Linked DNA regions of Homo sapiens: all the other regions are linked to region 5. Evidence: promoter capture Hi-C in 16 types of primary human blood cells and fetal thymus (Javierre and others, 2016). All regions are on one chromosome and are shown on one strand. The core of a region is centred on a gene start or on the middle of the fragment in contact, and the rest is flanking DNA. Distances in the headings are between cores, read along the strand shown.

The links. The method cuts DNA at HindIII sites, captures the fragments that hold promoters and counts their contacts. A CHiCAGO score of 5 or more calls a contact.
Region 1: a contact is called between a fragment that was not itself captured here and the fragment with the promoter of LRATD2 in region 5, in 1 of 17 cell types (total CD8 T cells). The highest score is 5.2, in total CD8 T cells.
Region 2: a fragment that was not itself captured here is called in contact with the fragment with the promoter of LRATD2 in region 5 in 4 of 17 cell types (M0 macrophages, M2 macrophages, naive CD4 T cells and 1 more); the score reaches 6.6 in M0 macrophages.
Region 3: a fragment that was not itself captured here is called in contact with the fragment with the promoter of LRATD2 in region 5 in 3 of 17 cell types (megakaryocytes, M2 macrophages and naive CD8 T cells); the score reaches 7.9 in megakaryocytes.
Region 4: a contact is called between a fragment that was not itself captured here and the fragment with the promoter of LRATD2 in region 5, in 6 of 17 cell types (naive CD4 T cells, naive CD8 T cells, activated CD4 T cells and 3 more). The highest score is 7.1, in naive CD4 T cells.

What each region holds. Positions count from the first base shown.
Region 1 is chr8:125,690,353-125,693,052 of GRCh38, forward strand. No RefSeq gene overlaps it. Among named protein-coding and RNA genes, the nearest start is that of LINC02964, 170 kb to the left of the region's middle. The HindIII fragment of the contact is 6,595 bases long and covers 1-2,700 here.
Region 2 is chr8:125,713,363-125,716,062 of GRCh38, forward strand. No RefSeq gene overlaps it. Among named protein-coding and RNA genes, the nearest start is that of LINC02964, 190 kb to the left of the region's middle. The HindIII fragment of the contact is 387 bases long and covers 1,078-1,464 here.
Region 3 is chr8:125,918,240-125,920,939 of GRCh38, forward strand. No RefSeq gene overlaps it. Among named protein-coding and RNA genes, the nearest start is that of LINC00861, 32 kb to the right of the region's middle. The HindIII fragment of the contact is 5,423 bases long and covers 1-2,700 here.
Region 4 is chr8:125,730,141-125,732,840 of GRCh38, forward strand. No RefSeq gene overlaps it. Among named protein-coding and RNA genes, the nearest start is that of LINC02964, 210 kb to the left of the region's middle. The HindIII fragment of the contact is 4,498 bases long and covers 1-2,700 here.
Region 5 is chr8:126,557,157-126,559,856 of GRCh38, forward strand. It overlaps LRATD2 (LRAT domain containing 2), which reads right to left and starts at 1,322. Exons shown (of 2, transcript NM_174911.5): 1 at 878-1,322; 2 at 1-329. The coding sequence starts at 233. It overlaps LOC105375751 (a long non-coding RNA gene), which reads left to right and starts at 720. Exons shown (of 6, transcript NR_188069.1): 1 at 720-775. RefSeq lists an enhancer at 724-1,560 and a silencer at 1,275-1,454. The HindIII fragment of the contact is 2,746 bases long and covers 605-2,700 here.

The DNA of each region.
Region 1 (2,700 bases), core at 71-2,570, 870 kb before region 5:
TTTTGTAGTATTGGCGTAACATAACCTCTTTAAATCGATCCCTAATTCTGAATATTTAGATTTTATATATATATATATATATATATATATATATATATATATATTTTTTTTTTTTTTTTTTTTTTTTTTTTTTGCATTTTTCGGTAGAGACAAATTCTTACTTTATTGTCCAGGCTGGTCTCAAACTCCTGGGCTCAAGTGATCCTTCTGCCTTTGCCTCCCAAAATCCTCAATTATAGGCATGAGTCACTGTAGCCGGCCTATTTCTAATTTTTGTTAGTATAGATTACACTTTTTTTGTTGTTGTTGTTGAGATGGAGTCTTGCTCTGTTGCCCAGGCTGGAGTGCAGTGGCACCATTTCGGCTCACCACAACCTCCGCCTCCTGGGTTCAAGCGAGTCTCCTGCCTCAGTCTCCTGAGTAGCTGGGATTACAGGTGTGTGCCACCATGCCTAGCTAATTTTTGTATTTTTAGTAGAGACAGGGTTTCACTATGTTGGCCAGGCTGGTCTCAAACTCCTGACCTTGTGATCTGTCCACCTCAGCCTCCCAAAGTGCTGGGATTACAGGCGTGAGCCACTGCGCCTGGCCCTGGATTACACTTTTAAAACAATATATTTACAGATATTTTTATACAACTGTATAGGAACCTTTATATAATTTTCCTAATATTTGCTTTGAAGAGATTCCTTAACTTTTTTTTTTTTGAGTTAAAAGAAATGAACATTTCGAAGATTCTTTATACATCTCATCTTCACAACTTGTTTTAAACCTCTTCCATAGCTTCAAGCTATGGTCCTGCTTTCTGGTTCTATTCTTCATCTTACTCCCTGGATGCGATGCCTTCATGTTCTTGGCCTCCTTTCCTGACACTATCTACGCACCTGTTTGTTATTCTGGGCTATAAATTTCCCAACCAAATCTGGCTTAGCTCTAGGTCCTGCTGGAATTATCTTCACTCCTCTTGTGGGAAATTGGATGGGAAGGAGAAATTGGACTCCTTCGTGAAAATTCCCTCCACATATTCATCCAGTAAAAATGTATGAAATGCCCAGTGCCTGGCACTTCTGGAATTCTCTCCAAAGATGCCATCCTGTTCCCACACTGTCATGGGAACAATAAAGGGAACCGTGTGGCCTCCTGCCATCTGCGTGTCTCCATCCCAGGGCGAATGCTTGATTAGTGGGGTGGTACTGCAGGCCCGGATCCTCAGGAGTCATCACTTTTCTTCTTGCCACAACTCTTCTTTTGCTCAACAGTGCCTTAATGGCTCAGTCACTTAAGAGTGCAGTCACTTAATAGCCCTTTCTATCAATTTTCCCATCTGCAGAATGGGGACTGTGATTCTGGGCTGACCGGGTGTTGTGAGCATTAATGAATGTTTTGAGGCATGTTGAGATCTGTAGATAAACAAACCTCAAGAAGTACAAAGTGCTAATGAGCCTGTTGCTGAGCAGCTCGCTTTGAGAGACTGCTTTCTTTCCCACAGAGGAGGAATCAGTTCCTAATCCCTGGGCACAGATGTTTTCCAGCTGCTTTTGGATGAACCAAAACAGTGGATTCCAAAGGGAATTTTCCCTGGACACATGCAGCTCTCAGGTTAATGGAAACCTCAGAATTAAGTCTAAAGCAACACCAGAGTAACTCCCAAGTTAGTTTGCCCGGTGACAGCACCACTTGGTAGAGTTTCTTGGCACTTTCTGCAACAGTGTTTGCCTGAGTGTGGAATGTATACTACTGATGACACACAGATGCCTTTGATGGTGCGTGGATGAACTTTTAATAACTTTTCACAGTTATGCATTTTTTGGTGGTTATTTTCTATCTGTAGCAAGTGATACTATTTATTTATTTATTTATTTAATTATTTGTCACAACAAGAATAACTGACATTTGGGCTGGGTGTGGTGGCTCACGCCTGTAATCCCAGCACTTTGGGAGGCCGAGGCAGATGGATCATGAGGTCAAGAGATCGAGACCATCCTGGCCAACACGGTGAAACACTATCTCTACTAAAAATACAACAATTAGCTGGGCATGGTGGTGCACACCTGCAGTCCCAGCTATTTGGGAGGCTGAGGCAGGAGAATTGCTTGAACTCAGTAGGTGGAGGTTGCAGTGAGCCGAGATCGCGCCACTGCTCTCCAGCGTGGGTGACAGAATGAGACTCCATCTCAAAAAAAAAAAAAAAGAATATCTCACATTTACTGAGGGCTTACTTTGTCCTGGGTACTGTTGTAAGTGCTTTACAGCAAAGCATTTAATCATCACAACAGCCTTATCTTTAGATATTCTTATTATCCCCTTTGTACACATGGGGATGTTGACACACAGAAACTTTAAGGAGTCTTACAAACTGTCTAAATTTACATAGCTGGCAAACAGTGGAGATGGGGTTTCTATCAGACAATTTTGGCTCCAGGGCCCATGTTCCTGTTAAACAGCCTGTCATATTTCCTTTCAATATATTTGCATTTGTGGTACTGGTATAAAGGATATTTAAAAACAGATTATTTAAAGTTACAAAAGCATGTTGATTGGAATAAAAATGATGTATAAAATCTGAGTTAAAAATAATGAGATGGTTTGAAGATATGGTGGATATTGTGATGTTGGAATCAATGACTGAAGGGCAGTGCGCCCTAGCGGGTGGCCTGGTGACCACCGGGGCCACTATTCTCTAGAAGCTGGTTAAAAATC
Region 2 (2,700 bases), core at 21-2,520, 840 kb before region 5:
AATGAGTGAGGCCCCCAAATCCTTTATATAGATGAAGTTCATGGGAGTTTGGGAGAGAGGGAGGAGATGTAGGCAGTTCCCAGGAAGGGGTCCTTCAATGAGCAAGTCTGCAGGGAAAGGATATCCTGGAAAGGCAGGAGTGCAGTGGAGGACAGGGCTGGGGGGAAGCTGGAGGCTTGCATGGCCAACACCAAGTTTAGTCTTCATATGATGGGCAGGAGGGATTGTGGATGGCTTTGGAGCTGAAGAGCATGATTCATTTTCTTTCATTTACCTTTTTAAAAATAGAAATTAGATTGTCTGTTGTTGCTAGAGTGATTTGGGGGAAAATGACAGAAGTCAGGGAGCCAGGGTAAGAGGCAGCTGCACCTGTTCACTTGTGTGTTAATGACATTGTTAGTGGGATGGAGGAGACCTGCTGAGCACAACGTTGGGAAGAAAATCTTCAAACACCAGTTACAAAAAGGGAGGCCAGGAAAAGTCATTTGTAAATGTGACTGTAAGGGTTTGAGCTTGTAAAAAAATGGGTCCAGGGCAGGTGGGTTAGTAAATTTAGGGAAGTGAGAGAAGTTTGGGGACTGCCACCTATGGTTTCTATTTCCTCAGTGACATTGAGATGAGGTTATCAATCAGCTGAGGGTGAGCAGGGAAGTTCAGTGGAGTAGGAGAAATGAAGAGGCAGAATCAAGTATAAAATAATGGATTCTGAATAAAACACGAAGAATTATATGTACCTAGGTAAAAGATTGGGAACCCCTGGAATAAATCCTTGTTGTTTGCAATCATTAGTAAACAAAATATTGCCTTTCTTTTTAATCTTTCCAATCTGTCATTTGCAGCATTTTTAATGTGAAATTTATTGGTTCCTTTCTATCCTGACTGTTTGAAGTGTGAATGTTAGCTGGTTTACCTGCTGTGTCTGTTTTACTGTTCTTTTCAAATAATCAGCTTTTGGCTCTTTTTTTTCTCTGTTTTGTATTTTTGTTTCCAATTTACTAACTTTTCCTCTTGTCTTTAGTATGTATTTTCCTCTACTTCTGTGGATTTATTTTGTTGTTAGTTCCCTAAATGTTTGCAAGCTTATCTCATTAATTTTCAATCTTCCCTCTTTTCTAATGTAATATTAAAGGCTATAGTTTCCCTCTAAGTACCACTTTAGGTGAATTCTGCAAGCTCGATGCAGTGTTTTTGCTGTCATTTAGTTCTAAACGTTTTCTGATTTACATTTTGATTTATTCTTTGATCTTTGAAATCTTTAGAAGTGTAACTAAACATTTCTGAATATGATTTTCTTTTGCTATTGTTTTTAAGTTAGCTGCATCGTGCTTGAGAGTGCTTGGTCAGTAGGATTGTCTCTCTTTTTGAGATGTTAGGAAACATTGATGACCACCATCCAGATCAGAGGTCAGCAAACTGTGGTGGCCCATTAGCCAAATCCTGACCACTGCCCGTTTTTGTAAGTAAAGCTTTATTGGAATGCAGCCATACATATTCATTTGTGTATTGTTTATGGCTTCTTTTGAGCAGAGGTGAGTAGTTGCCACAAAGACCATTTAGGCCTGTGAAGCCTAAAATACTATCTGGCCTTTAACAAAAACCTTGTCAAATCTTGGACTGGATCTGTCATTGTAGTAGGGTTGCAAAATGGTGATTCTATATTCCTTCTATATTCCAGTTCTATAACCTTTCTTCATTTAATAGATGGGATCATTTAATAATAAGATATTTTCCCTATTAATTATTTGGTTACCCTTAGGTATTGTTTGCACGAGAAAGGCAGGATGGATGCTTGAGTTTTTCCTTTTTCTTACTAGCTTTCTAAAAATAGAAGTTGATGGCTGGGCGTGGTGGCTCATGCCTGTAATGCCAGCACTTTGAAGGCTGACACAGGTGGATCACCTGAGGTCAGGAGTTCGAGACCAGTGTGGCCAACATGTCAAAACCCCATCTCTACTAAAAATACAAAAAAAAAAATCAGCTGGGTGTGGTGGTGGGTGCCTGTAATTCCAGCTACTCGGGAGGCTGAGGCAGGAGAATTGCTTGAACCTGGGAGGTGGAGGTTGCAGTGAGCCAAGATCGTACCATTGCACTCCAGCCTGGACAATAAGAGTGAATCTCCGTCTCAAAAAAAAAAAAAAAAAAAAAAAAAAAAAAGAAGTAGTTGATTTCCTTATTTTTTTTTGACAGAGTCTGACTCTGTCACCCAGGCTGCAATGCAGTGGCACCATCTCAGCTCACTGCAACCTCCACCTCCTAGGTTCAATCAATCCTCCTGCCTCAGCCACCTGAGTAGCTGGGATTACAGATGTATGCCCCCAAGACCCGCAAAATTTTTATATTTTTATTAGAGACGGGGTTTCACCATGTTGCCCAGGCTGGTCTCAAACTCCTGGCCTCAAGTGATCTGCCTGCCTTGGACTCCCAGAGTGCTGGGATTACAGGTTTGAGCCACTGCACCTGATCAAATATGACCGTTTAAAATTACCATTATAGGACTTGGCATGCTGGTTCACGCTGTAATCTCAGGGGTTTGGGGAGGCTGAGGTGCGAAGATCGCTTGAGGCCAGGAGTTTGAGACCAACCTGGGCAACATATTTTTATTATGAAAATAAATAATTTTATCTTATTTAAAGTAAAATGAAAAATTATTTTTATTTTATTTTATTTAAAAATAAATACCATTATCACTATGATATATTT
Region 3 (2,700 bases), core at 105-2,604, 640 kb before region 5:
TAAGTGCAACTTCTCACCTGTACTCTGATATTACTTTCTATGGCTTCTCATGGTTTGACTTTTATTTAAGCTGTGTGCCAGTGGCAAGGACAATATAATGTGACACTTAGAAAAGGGTGGACTTTGGAGACAACTGGAATGTATTCCTTATTCTGCCTTTTCCTATCTGAGTCATTTTGGACAAAATTCAGCACAGCTTAAGATTCACATTGTTGATGTGAAGACGAAAGTAGAGCATGTGTGGCAAGTTCTCAGAATGTGTTGTGGTACATGGGAAGCACACAATATATGGTGGCTGGTTAGATGGATTAAAAACAACATAAATGGGCCGGGCAATGTGGCTCACACCTGTAATTCCAGCACTTTGGGAGGCCGAGGCGGGCAGATCATGAGGTCAGGAGATCGAGACCATCCTAGATAACACAGTGAAACCCCATCTCTACTAAAAATACAGAACATTAGCTGGGCGTGGTGGTGGGCACCTGTAGTCCCAGCTACTTGGGAGGCTGAGGCAGGAGAATGGTGTGAACCCGGGAGGCGGAGCTTGCAGTGAGCCGAGATTGTGCCACTGCACTCCAGCCTGAGCGACAGAGTGAGACTACGTCTCAAAAAAAAAAAAAAAAAAAAAAAGAAAAGAAAATTGTAGTGTTGATAAAGAAAACTAATCTCCACTCATTAAATTAATATTTTGGTGCTGTTTTAGAACCTCTGTCTGGGTACGTTTTTTCATTTAACTGCACTCCAGCCTGGGCGACCGAGCAAGACTCCGTCTAAAAAAAAATAAAAAACCGTAAATGAAGGAATGAATGGCAGTGACCTTTGTTCGTTTATAGGATCACCTCTCCAAAATTGCGCTCTGTGTCGGTTCAAAATGTAATTTTAAAAATATGAAAATGAATCTCATAAAGACTTGAGAAAAACAAGTATATCTGACTGAGTTCCAGGCTGCCCCACTGTAGTAGAAAAACCTGACTAGATCACACTGATTATAATGTTGTATACAACTTCTTAAAAATAATGGCCACTGAGACCAGAATATGTTGATTATTAATGAGCTGAAATATGGGGTCTATTGTGTTGTGAGTTCCTCCAACCTATTTCATGAATGAAATAGAATCATGGAGACCAACAGGAGACCTGGACTCGAAATCACAGGATTCTTATCAGAATTTCAATTTCAATTCCACCATGTGTAATTATATATGTGACCTCTATATGCAATAAGCTGTAAATTTCACAGAACTACCAAGACTCCAGGAAGCGGACTCGGAATTGGAAATTTATTTGTGTAAAGTTTATTGGGGGTGTTTTCTGGACCAGGACCTGTCAGGGGGTCAGAGAAGCAAGACTGGGTCAGACTGGTTACAGGTGACTTCCCAGGCATTTCTGGAGGGCTGAATTGAAGAAGGAATGCCAAGACTTTGAAGCCTTTCAGACTGTCCCCAGGAGAAGGGTGTAGCATTAGACAGAGCAGCTCTCTTTGACCAAGAGAGGACATTTCCTGAGAAGAAACTTGGCTGTGAGATATCAACAACCCATAATTCCAGCAGCCATGGGCATGAGTTTCTCAGTTCTGGAATCTGAGTGGAGCACTACAGCATCCACTACAGTGGTGAAAGAAGGATTCGAACTCAGGAAACCTGACCCCTCATGACTTCATTATAATTTCTTTCCTTGCAACTCAATGACTATCATCATTTTCACTTTACAGTTCAAAATATAGAACCTCAGAGTTAAGTAACTTGCCTAACATGCCAGAAATTGTAGGTCCCAAGATATACAACGAAAGCCCATGCGCATTCCCTAGGACCATATATCTGCGTACTTTAATAGCAAATGAAAAGTCACTCAATAGACTGCTAAATTGTTCAACATGTAATCGTTTGCTAAATCTCAGAAGATGGAAAGGGATTATGTGTGTATGTACTTGCACGTAATGTTTTAGAACAGGCAGATAGATATTAGCTGTTTCCCCCTGGATGGTGGAAACACTCAGGACTTCAGAGGAGTAGCAGCAGAAAACCATTACAACACACTTCATATCAAGCAGATTTTGCAAGTCAAGTAATTGCTTGTAAACATAACACCATGGAATAAAACCTGATATATATTATTTGGACTTCACAAAATAATTCCTATTATTTCTGTAAGTAATTTTTGTGTATCTCTTTTTTTTTTTTGAGACAGAGTCTCGCTCTGTTGCCCAGGCTAGAGTGCACTGGCGCGATCTCAGCTCACTGCAAGCTCTGCCTCCCAGGTTCAGGCCATTCTCCTGCCTCAGCCTCCCGAGTAGCTGGGACTACAGGCACCTGCAACCACGCCCGGCTAATTTTTTGTATTTTTAGTAGAGACGGGGTTTCACTGTGTTAGCCAGGACGGTCTCGATCTCCTCACCTCGTGATCTGCCCGTCTCGGCCTCCCAAAGTGCTGGGATTACAGGCGTGAGCTACTGCGCCCGGCCTTTTGTGTATCTCTGATGTTATGATGTACTCACTAGGAATATGGAGGTAAATGGAGCTTATAGATTGGTGACAGAGTTGTGTTGGATTTGGACTTCAATACTGCAAGAGGTTTCTGGTGACGTGGTCACCCAGAGAATATTATAAACAGACGGAGAATAGTCTTAAAACTCAGCCCACTCCATCATCCCAAATCTAAGATAAAAGGAAGGGAAGGAGGGAGGGGATTTACTGAAAGCAA
Region 4 (2,700 bases), core at 109-2,608, 830 kb before region 5:
TGCCTATCAGCAACAATCAATGTCACTTCCTCTTAGACACATAATATTAATAAGGATGGAGCTGCCGAAAAAACCAAAGTCATGTGAAAACCTGTGATCAAATCAGGAAGTGATTCTCACTCAGGGCCCAGTACCCAGGGTCCCTGCCTGTCTTGGTGCTGGTCTCTGAAACTCATCAGCTTCCCTCCCCTTCAGGAGATGTTCCCATCTTCCAGGTCCCTGCCCTGTGGGAAGTTTCTCCCCTCAAGCCCAGCTGAGGAACCTGCCATGGTCAAACCAAACTGTGTGTCCTTGCTCCCCACTGGGACGAATCCCAGGAACTTTGAGTTTCAGGTTTTTGCAGTGGGTCACTTAGGAGAATCAGATAACCGATGTCTTCAAAACAGTGAACATATCATAGGAGAGAGAGCATAAGCTCTGGAAATGCAGGGACAGGATCGGAGTCCCAGCTCTACTACCACTGCCTGGCACTGGAGCTGCCTACAGGTTATTTACTTGCTTGGCTATGCATCAGTTTCTTTATCAGTAAAATGGGTAATAGCACCTACCTCATAGGATTAGATGAGATAACTTTGAGTAAAGTAATGATTTTATTGAAAATTTACTCTGTTCTAGGTACTGTGTTAAGCACCTTATATAGCAGTGTTGTCCAATAAAAATATAATGTGAGCTACATATGTAACTTAAACATTTTTGTTTGAAACACTAACATTGTAAATTACCACATATTAATATAACATAACATGTCTGTTAACATTAACATAAAATTTTTATATTAATAATATGAAAAAACAGATGAAATTAATTTTAATAGTATATTTTATGTAACCCCATACATGGAAAACATTTGAACATGTGGCACCAACAAATGCTCAAAAGCTACATGTAGACAGTGGCTATCATTTATATTACATGTGTAATATGTATAACAAATGTGTACTATATATATTCATGTGTAATACATATAACAAATGTGTACTATATATATTTTACATTTTTATGCAATATTTTGAAAGTTCTGTAATTATTTGAGAAACACATCCAATAGAATGTTACAGTGATACTTAATACTTGTTCACCATTATGTGCCAAGAACCATGCTAAGTATTCATTTATATTAACTTAGTGAATTGTCATAAACATTCTGGGGATCAGGAACAGAGGGATGGGAAAAGTGATATGGAAGGAGGGAAAGCCAATCCCATGGGTGCATTCTTGAGCAGGTCACTGCTGCGGGCAGTTGTGTTGCCGCTATGGGCAACAGTTGGGATGCCGCCTTGAAATTGTTAACGGAAGACGTAGAAAACTGTGTTTTAGTTTTCATTCGTCATGTAGGGTCCTGGAGGTGCGATTGTGCTTGCACTTCTGGTTTGCACATGCACCAGAGTGGCTGACCAGACTCCAGCATGCAGCTCATAAGGTGAGAGGCCCCAGACAGAAAGCAAGAGATGCCTGCAGCAGAGGCAGGGTGCTATCACTAGTTGCTATGATAATGGCCGGAGCACAGTGGTGGCTGAGAGGATGAGAGATGGGGATCAAAGGTGTCTGACACATCGTGTTGCTGGTGTGCAGCCCGTGGGGTGGGTTGCCAGGGCGAGAGACGTGAGTGTGTCTATGGAGGAACTGGGAGATATTTTAGAGTGCATCTCTCACATTAGGAAATAGTGCAGTGGAGAGACCCCAGAGGGCTTCCTATGTGCACCCGTGGGACAGCGAGCATTGGAGTACCAACTACTTGGAGCTCATAGGTGGCCTACAATGATCCGTCAAGTAAAATAACTTTTTCCTTCCTCCCTGGAGAAGACATCTCCCTTCCCTGGAGACGGAGACGGGGGAGGGAAGGACGGAATGTAGCAGCCCCTCCTCTCTCCAATTTCTTCAGGACAAGATACAGTGAGCACTGAGAGGAGGGGGCAATGCGAAGGCCAAATTAAACAGGACACTGTGTCTTCAGGTGGACTGAGGAGGAGGCTTAACATAGCCACATTGAAGGCAACAATTAGAGTAAATGTTTCATGTTTATACTTCACCAAGTTTAGAATGTTCAAACAAGGGCCACATTGTTATTTAGCTATTTATCTCATAAGACAACTGAATTAGCAATACTTCCTTTACTTGGTAGGAGACTCCTTGGTTTGGGTACTGTCAGGTATGCATGCCACCTGCAATGTTAAGAGTATTTTATGATGGTAGTGTTAGCCTCCAATGCCCTCAGGAGCCAGACAGACGCTGGAGTGCCTCCTATGTGTGAAGGAAGCAGACCTGATTGGGGCTGATGAACCAGAGATCCACATCCTATTTAAAGGAGTGCAGGCACTGTTCTGCTCCAGCATGTGGCCTTGCAGAAACAGCAAGGTAAAGAATTGGGATTGTTGGACATGTATGCAAAACACCTGGCTTAATTGCTCTTCCTCCTCCTTCCTGGTATTGGAGGAATTAATGCCATCAATTCTTTACCCTTCTCTGTATCCAGCTCTTTTTCATGTAATTTTGCAATGTCCTTCCACTGTGGTCAGCCACACTTCCTCACTTCTTGTCTCTGGGCTCGTCTCATTCTTAGGGCTTGTTTTGTCCAATGGCTTGTTAGTGAGTGAGCACAGATGGAGGCTTGGGATGCACTTGAGTGACTGGGCTTGTCTATTTCCTTGCACCTCTGCCATTACCACAAGGGGAACATGCTTGAGCTAACAGCTGATCCCA
Region 5 (2,700 bases), core at 72-2,571:
AGCCGCGGATCGTAGGGCTGCGGCTGGGGCGGCGGCGGCCCGTCCCCACCGTCGGGCAAGCCGCCGCCATCTGGCCCCTGAGGCGGCGGCTGCGGCTCCACGTCCTCATCGTCATTGGAGAAAATGTAGGAGACCCCAATGCGGGGCCCGTCGTCCCGGTCCACGCCAGTCGGGTCGGCCGTGGGAACTTCCTTGTAACTTAGGTGGGTCAATTTCTCCACCTGGTTGCCCATCACGCTGCGGACACACGTTCACACCGCCGCAAGGGGAGAAAGCGAAACCAACTCCAGGGTCATTTGCACAGGTCCCCGGACAGGGGCTGAGGCTACCTGTTGGGAGAGGAAGGCAAGAAAGCCATGCAGGAGCCCCTCCGTGAAAAGGGCGTTTTGTTCCGAAAAAGAATCGGTGGGGGCTCAGCACCTGGAGCCATTTTAGGGGGAAGTCTCGGGTGTAGCGAGCTTTCCCTCGTTTCTCCACCTGTAAGGTCACGGTCACAGGAGACTGGGCAACTCCTGTTCTCCCTGTCCCCAGCCCTTCGCCTGGCCCTGGCAAAAGCCCATTGCATCAGCAGCTTCTACTGCTTCCGCCTGCGCCCTACCTGCCAAGCTTGGGCAGGAAGAGGGAAGGAAAGAGAAACTTTACGCCAATCCCCCCCCTCCTCTGCTAACTTCCCCTCCCACCCTCGGGCCCTAACTAGCCCCGGGGACGCCTCCTCCCCACCAACGCATCCATCCCCAGAGGAACAAGCGAGGATCTCAGAGCGCGACCTGGACAGGTGAGTCACCCTACCTGGCTCACCTGCAGCGCTACCTCCTCCCGGCTCGCCCGCCCTTCCCCCGCGCCCGCCCTCAGGCTCGGGTTACCTGCACAAACTCACCCGCGGAGAGGTGAAGGCCGTGGGGCCTGGGGAAGGGCTCCCTGCCGCGCCCCGAGACTTCTAGGGCGAGTTTGAAGGTGTAGGCTCGGCAGTCCCTCCTCTCCCGGCGCGGGCGGCAGCGAGGCTGGGCAGAGGGCAGCGCAGCGGGCAGACTAGGGGCATGTCTTTCCCCCGCGGCTGCGTAGCGCCCCGATACTTGAAGGCGGGGGGCAATCCCTGTTCACACCGCGCTTCCTCCCGCCAGCTGGGGCTGCTGCCCCTCCTCAGCCAGCTCTCGGGGGAGGTGGGGCGCGAGGAGGAGAGGACGGCAGCCTCGCAGCCTGGCGGCAACAGCTCCCGCTTGGGCCGGGCGAGCAACAAGCACCGGAGCTGGAGGGACGGGATTGTAGATCCGGCTCCGGGCTCCCGGGCGGGAGCGCAGCCCGTGGCATTTAAAGAGACAGGCGCTCACTCCCCGAGCTCGGGTCTTTTTCACATTGCGCCGAGCGGCCGGGAGCCCCGCCCCCGCCCCGCCCACTCGGGCCTCGGGACTCCGCCCGGCCACGCCCCCGCGCCGGAGCGGGTTTAAATCCCCCTGTAAATAATCCACCCGCCGCCTGGGGCTGGTGCTGTGAGCTCTGCTTGCCTTCCGAGACAAGTTAGAAGGCAAACACAACTTGCCAGTGTGGAAATGAGAAAGGGAAGGAGAGTTTGGTGTTTGCGCCTTTTCCCTTTGACCTGTTTTTTCCCAGAGTACCTGGAGAAGGAGGAACAGTCGTTTCTTTTCTTTCCTGGAACATATTTCTTGCCCTAAAGGTCACAAGAAAGGATTCTTCACCAGGACAGCTCGAAGAGTGCGTCATCCTAGAGGTGTTTTCAGAGTTAGTAGTGGGAAACTTTGGGGTAGAAAAGAAAATCGCAGAAAAGAAACAGTATAAAACAGAACGAAGACTTATTCACTGACTGGGTCCCAAGACCACCGCTCTGTTTATTAGATACCCCTGGAAGTTAGTACAAAGTTCATAACCTCCGTTATTTCCAGAGAGGTACCAGTTCGTTGGATAGTGAGAGAAGCGTGCAGCTCTGACTGCTTTTTTTTGGGGGGGTGGGGGGTTAGGGGATGTAGGAATTGCCTAATTCCTACATCCTAATTCTAATTGTCCTTAAATTAGAAACAAATTAGCAGAGGCCCTAGTGGATATATTTCCTTCCTGTTGACTTAGGGAAGTGACAGGAGACCAGTAATGCCTACTAACCTCCACCACAAAAGGACACTTCCACCTCTCCACTGGTTTCGTTTCTTTTACCTAAATGTAGGCTACCAAAGTGTTTTTTTTGTTGTTGTTGTTGTTTATTTTTTTAAAATAATGGGTCCGGTGAGGGTGGAGGATTAACAGCTCTGTTTACAATAAACAAGTTTAGGCACTACTGCAAGCACCCAGACTTATTCGTAGGGGACTTAAGAATGCGATTCAAGACCTATATTCTGTCTTCAGTTGCTTTCTTTTGACTAATTTTTTCCAGCATGTATAACCAGCCAGTGGAAACAGGAATATACTAGCACTACTGTGATCCTTTCTAGTTTAGGAGAAAAAAATAAAAATCATTCTACTTATGTAATTTTGAGTCCAAACAATCAATATTGGCAGGGCTGTGATAGAAATTAGTCCTTCAGCAAGTCTGAAGTATAAGTTAGATCAACATGAGACTACTGTGTGCTGTGCGATTCTGTTTCAATAATTTCAGACTGGCTGGCCTCAGGCGCATGTGACTGAATGAATCCAACACACCCCAGTCCTTTTGATAGCAAATGGTGTGGGGGGCTGCTGTTACCTGAGTGATAT